2 separate regions of the Homo sapiens genome follow, and region 1 is linked to region 2. The links are contacts of gene promoters, found by promoter capture Hi-C in blood cells and fetal thymus (Javierre and others, 2016). All regions are on one chromosome and are shown on one strand. The core of a region is centred on a gene start or on the middle of the fragment in contact, and the rest is flanking DNA. Distances in the headings are between cores, read along the strand shown. Region 1 overlaps ARMC8 (armadillo repeat containing 8). Region 2 holds the start of DZIP1L (DAZ interacting zinc finger protein 1 like).

Region 1 (2,972 bases), core at 371-2,870, 110 kb before region 2:
ACCAGAAAATAAGGAGAAAAAAACAAAATAATAAATAATTCTGAATGAAAAGCTAATAGCAATTGCACAGAAAACTTAGCTCTGAGGAGCAAAAGTAAAGAGGAAGTTATGTAACTGTCATTGCCTGCCTAAAGGAAGCTTATTAGGTCATCAAAAGAAGAAATTAAACTTCCTAAACTTCTTACGTTAACTTAAAAAACAGCAAGTTGTAAAAATCAGAAGTTAAAAAATGAAACTGGATTAAAAATCAAGCAGGGTTTTTTTCCTTTAAATTCAAAAAGGTCTTAAGGCTCCTAATAAATTACCCACTCACACAAAAAACTGCCAAGGCTCTAAGGAAATGGAGAAGAAAGTATCAGGCTGTTGTACATTGCATATGTACTTTACGAACCCTTTTGTCATCAGGTCAAAGGTCTTCCTGAGTTTCCAAAATGTATTAACACATTCACTTCTTACTACATTCTCTGTTACTTTATAATTTTTTTCCTTAAAGATAGTTTAAATACTTACATTTATTTTTAAAAATAGGATTTATTTTAAGAATTAGACAGACAATACAGGAAAAATGGGTTCTATAATTGAGAGTAAGAAATACATTAGAAACTAGTATGAATGGCAAGAAAGGGGTGAGACAGCAAACATACCTTGGAACAGCTCCTAAAACAATGAGATTGGCTTTCTGCTTGTTGTTTCCAATTACAGCATTTTTCATGTCTCTGAATTAAGGGGAAGAAAAAATAAAGTATGTTGAGACAGCACTGAAGAAAAATCAAAGATCATTCTACTTCATTATGCAATATCTTAGATTTGACAAAGTAAAAGCACTAACCTTTTTTCACCTAAAGTACTAATGAAGGGATAGAGATAGGTGCAGAGTGAATGTGGGGGCTGTAAAACGGCGTATTGTAGAAAGTGAGAGATATCCTGAGTACTGGCGAAAGACTTCCAGTACAGAATTGAGTTCTTCTAGAAAGGGTACCTACCAATACTTTGGATACAAAGGAATACAGGCCACCCTCACGCTCAGCTCTAAGAGTAGGGAGTGAGTTAAACGAACAACAACAACAACAGAAAAAACAGCCCACAGAACATTAACTCCTTGTTTCAATGATCACACTTTGTTCACTTTTTTTTTTACTTCTTTATATATTATTTCTTACAATTCCATTTTATCTGCTTTATTGTCTTACTAACTGTACTCCTTTGTTATTTTCCAATGCATCTTTTAATTTATCACAGTCAGTCTTCAAGTGATATTAGCCCATTGCACATGTATTTTAAGAGCCTTGCATATGTATTTCCACTTTCCCATTCATTTTTTGGGCTGCTGTTATACAATATTTTTAAATTGCTTAGAAACAACATAATACATTGTTACTATTTTTGCTTAAGCAGCCAGTTATCTCTTAAGGCGATTTAAAAAATAACAAAGAATCTTTTACATTTCTCAGATATTCACAGTATTTTTTATTCTAGCTATACAGAGCTCTATACTTCACCAGGAGCAAAACTCTATTCCACAATAAGAGAACCTCTACCACTGATCACTTGGCTCACAAATTTGTGGTTGGTTCAAAAGGAAATGTAGAGAAAAAATAAATAGCTCAAAATAAACCCAGTACTACTAATAAAATGTTTAAAAAAACTTCCCTGGCCGGGCACGGTGACTCACACCTGTAATCCCAGCTCTTTGGGAGGCCTAGGCAGGCAGATTGCTTGAACTCAGGAGTTCAAGATCAGACTGAACAACATGGCGAAACTCCATCTCTACAAATAATACAAAAATTAGCCAGGTGTGGTGGCACGCACTTGTGGTCCCAGCTACCTGGGGGGCTAAGGTAGGAGGATCACTTCAGCTGGGGAGGTGGAGGTTGCAGTGAGCAGAGATCGCGCCACTGCACCCCAGTCAGGGTGACAGAACGAGACTCCATCTCAAAAAAAAAAAAAAGAAAAAAAAATCAACAAATAAATGTTATAGTCAGCATACATTTCTAACACCAATCATATTTACTGGCATTAAAGAACCTGGTAACGATTAACCCTTGTCTTCAATTGCCTTTTTTGATTATTGCAGAAAAATACTGCAACAACTAGTGATGTGCTAAAAGCAGATTTTCCCTACAAGTTTCTGAATGGCATTTTTACAAGTCAAGCCAAATACTGAGAATGCCTGGTCTTTCTTCCATTAGCTCAGTGCCTGAGGGTAGGGCTTTTTTTCCAGGCCTGACCTATCCCTCTGTAAAGTATCCCTCAGATCTTCTATATGGTTTACAAGAAATAAGTAGCAATTTTTTTGTTGTTGTTTATGGGACTGAACTGAATGAAGTTTACTGAGGTTGTTAGCAAGTTCTGATACATGAATATAAAACTATATGATATCAAAGGATCAATTAGCAAAGTTAAAGTTAGTAAGAGATTTCTAAGCTCCCGCATCCTCATGGATGCCTGTTTTCTTTAGAGGCTTTAGTTCCTAATCATCAGCATATGGACCTTAACCTACCAGCTTGTTGTTCACTTTCATTGTCTTCCTTTCTCTTAATGTGTTCTGCCTATACTAATGTAGAACATTCATTTATCCAGCCCCTACCTACTTAGAGTCTGTGTAGGCTAAGTGCCATTCTGAATGCTTTCTATTCCAGAACTCCCAACCCTAATATTTCCCCAGTTTTTCCTCTCCATTCTTCTTAAGCAGAAATGAGCGGTCCCTAACATTACCAAATGAACCCATTCCAAACATCTCAAACCATGCCATGTTTTTACAGACAAGAGCAAACAAAAACCTGTCCAACACCAATTTTCTAATTCTCTTAATAGTTTACAAAAAGGACATGAAGGAGGTAACTGATGGCAACAGAGGAAATGCCAACTAAAGAGAACACAATACAATGGAACAATGTCTAAAGAAAAAGATTCTCGCTTTGGCTTTAGTAAGTAAATATACCTGTGCTAGATAAGGAAAAAAAGATGTTAAT
Region 2 (2,771 bases), core at 17-2,516:
TGGCAGATTGAGATTGTGGTGGGACGAAAGCCTTTGAAATGGAAAAAAGAGAAAGAGGGAGGGAGAAGAGTTGCGGAGTGGAGAGAGAGAGAGTGTGTGTGAAAAGGAGCTTTTTTCCCACTCTTCCCTGACCCTCATGGGGGCTGCAGCGACTCCTAGAACCTTCAAGCAGCGAGACAGAGGTTCCCTCCACCAGGCGCAGAGCTCTCCTTACACCTGGCCTCCTATTCCCAGCAACTTTAAGGAGATATTTTTAAGTGGCCATGGTTTTATCAAATGCCTATTAAGTTTTTGCCACAAAAGGATTTTATTTAAAATAAAAATAGGGGTAGGTATTTGACTGATGCCCCTTGTGAGTGCTCTAGAGAAGAGGAATGAATACTGACATGTCCTATCTTCCCAGATGCAGAATTGTAAAACAAACATAACTGCTTTTCACATGTGAAAGAAAACTGGCTTAGAACATACTAGCGTTTTCTTTGCCATGAAGGAGTTCACCTTCAGTGACTAAGCCAGAACTACTAGAGTTGCCGGGCCTAGGGACAGGAGACATTGCCAGTGCTTAGCCAGGCTGGCCAGGACTAACCATCTCTGCAAGGAGTCCACAAGAAGCCTCAGGGCAGCCTTTCCCTGCTCCTATCAATTTGAGTTGAGCAACAAACATTTTGACCAAATATCAGCTCTATGGCACAACTCACAGTTACGGTGCCCACAAAACGGAATCTCAGCAAAGCAACTACTACTATGGGAAGAGATCAGGGACTAATATCAGGAGAAAAAATAAGTTTTTCAGTCCTGGGTTTCCAAGTTGGCATCCCCAGGGCAAACCAGCAGGTTGGGAGGGTAGGGGGTGGTGGGTGGGGGCTGCGGAGGGAAGGTGGCTGCTGTCTGTCTGATCAGACCTGGGGCACACCCAAAGAACTCTCCTAGCTTGGGATCCGGTCAGGAAGAAACCAGGACGGTCCCTTTAGGAGGGTGGGCAGGGCTATCTGCCCGGGGGGTGCGGCCGCCCCTGCACAGCAGGCTATCGATTGTACCGGAGGCAGGGTGTGGGGAAACCGGGGCAAGTCCAGCCTCTCAGCAAGGCCAGGAAGCCATTCACTTGGATCCTGGATTTTACTAACGGATTAAACGTGGCATTCCCGCCTTCCCCCATCCGTTACAGACCTAAAAATAGCTCGTCCGAGAGGGGCCGGGAGAGGCTCCACCTCTTCTTGAGGTGGGGCGGGGCGGCTGTAGTAGGAGCTGGAGGCACCAGAGACCCCAAGCCACGAGCTGACCGACGCACCGAGGAGCTCTCTGTCCGCGGTCCCGCAGGTTGGCGGCACTGGAGTGGGCCGGGCAGGCTCTGCCTCCGCCGCAGAGAGCGCCCGGACTGCGTGGGGCTGGGGAAGCATCCCGGGAACGGCGGGCGGTGAGCATTCCGGGAACCATCTCTGGGCTGTCTGGGGCGGTGGAGCAAGTCTGGAGGCGGGACGTGGGGCGAGTATGGGAGCCGCCACCTCGAGACGTCTTCCCGCCGTCCCCGGCTCCAGGAGACCCCACGGTGAGCGGGCCGCGCGGGAAAACTATGCCAGGAATTCGTCCCGGGAGCGGGGCGGGTGGGTAGCTTGGCTGCAGTCCGAGGGATCAGCGATTCGGGAGGTTAAACATTAGCGGGGGCGAACTCCCTGCCGGGGTGCAGCGGGGCGCGGGAGGAGCCGGCTGCGTGCGTCCGCGCTGCCCAGGGCGCGCCCTTCTGGCCCGGCGCGGCCCTGCAGCCCGGCCCCCTCGGCCTGCTCCGAACTGCGGCGCCCAGGGAGGGAAGGACCCGTGCGCGGGGGACGAATGACGGGATGCCCCAAGACTCGGCTTCACTGGGAAGACGGCCTTGGGTTTTTACTTTTTGAAAAAAGAAAAGTGATTTGGGAGGGCTTGATGATCTGAGTGCCGTAGGTAAAGGAGGATTCTTTTAGTAATGAGGTGATTTAAAAGCAATCGCATTGGCATCTTTCGTTCCCCTTCTTCCTTTCCTGGGCTGGACCTCAGCAGGAGGCAGACGTGGTATTTTCATCCTGAGGTGGCTGCGCATAAAGTCCACCGAAGACCTGCTCAGTGCAGGACAGGGATCAGGAGGCAGGGCAGAGGAGGGGGTCCGAGGCTGCCTGGGCAGGGCCTAGTTCACGGAGCACTTCCTAGGGGCCCAGGGCCTAGGCTGCCCCTGCCTGGTCTCCTGGAATTCGATTTCTAACAGGACTTTGGAGAGAGGCCTGGGAAGTATGGGGTGTTCTGACTTGGCTTCTCACACCCTCATCTGCAGATAGGGTGGGTGATCTCTCCCTTCTCAGTTGCAGCCCCTAGCACCTCTCCTCCCCCTCCCGGATGTGAGGACTGGCCAGTGAGAACAATCCTGCTTAGGGAAGGCTGATCCTCCAGTCTAGTGGCTGATAAGGGGCCTTCTGACTGTCTTGGTCAGACACCTCCCTCATCTGGGAATATTTTTTGATACTATCTAACTTGATAAAATACCTCATGAAGTTGTATGCTTCAGGTTGGGAACAGAAACCTGAGTTCATGTGGGCACCATAACTGTGGGTTGTGCCATGGAGCTGATATTTGGTCAAAGGTTTTTTGCTCAACTCAAATTGATAGGAGCAGGGAAAGGCTGCCCTGAGGCTTCTTGTGGACTCCTTGCAGAGATGGTTAGTCCTGGCCAGCCTGGCTAAGCACTGGCAATGTCTCCTGTCCCTAGGCCTGGCAGCTCTAGTAGTTCTGGCTTAGTCACTGAAGGT

Evidence for each region. Contacts are between HindIII fragments. The CHiCAGO score rates a contact against its expected background, and 5 or more counts as called.
Region 1: a contact is called between a fragment that was not itself captured here and the fragment with the promoter of DZIP1L in region 2, in 2 of 17 cell types (M1 macrophages and monocytes). The highest score is 6.8, in M1 macrophages.

Annotation. Positions count from the first base shown.
Region 1 is chr3:138,219,670-138,222,641 of GRCh38, reverse strand. It overlaps ARMC8 (armadillo repeat containing 8), which reads right to left. Exons shown (of 22, transcript NM_001363941.2): 3 at 645-716. Among named protein-coding and RNA genes, the nearest start is that of ARMC8, 34 kb to the right of the region's middle. The HindIII fragment of the contact is 2,960 bases long and covers 141-2,972 here.
Region 2 is chr3:138,114,103-138,116,873 of GRCh38, reverse strand. DZIP1L (DAZ interacting zinc finger protein 1 like) reads left to right here and starts at 1,266. Exons shown (of 16, transcript NM_173543.3): 1 at 1,266-1,546. RefSeq lists enhancers at 954-1,453, 1,454-1,955 and a silencer at 1,612-1,831. The HindIII fragment of the contact is 15,110 bases long and covers 1-2,771 here.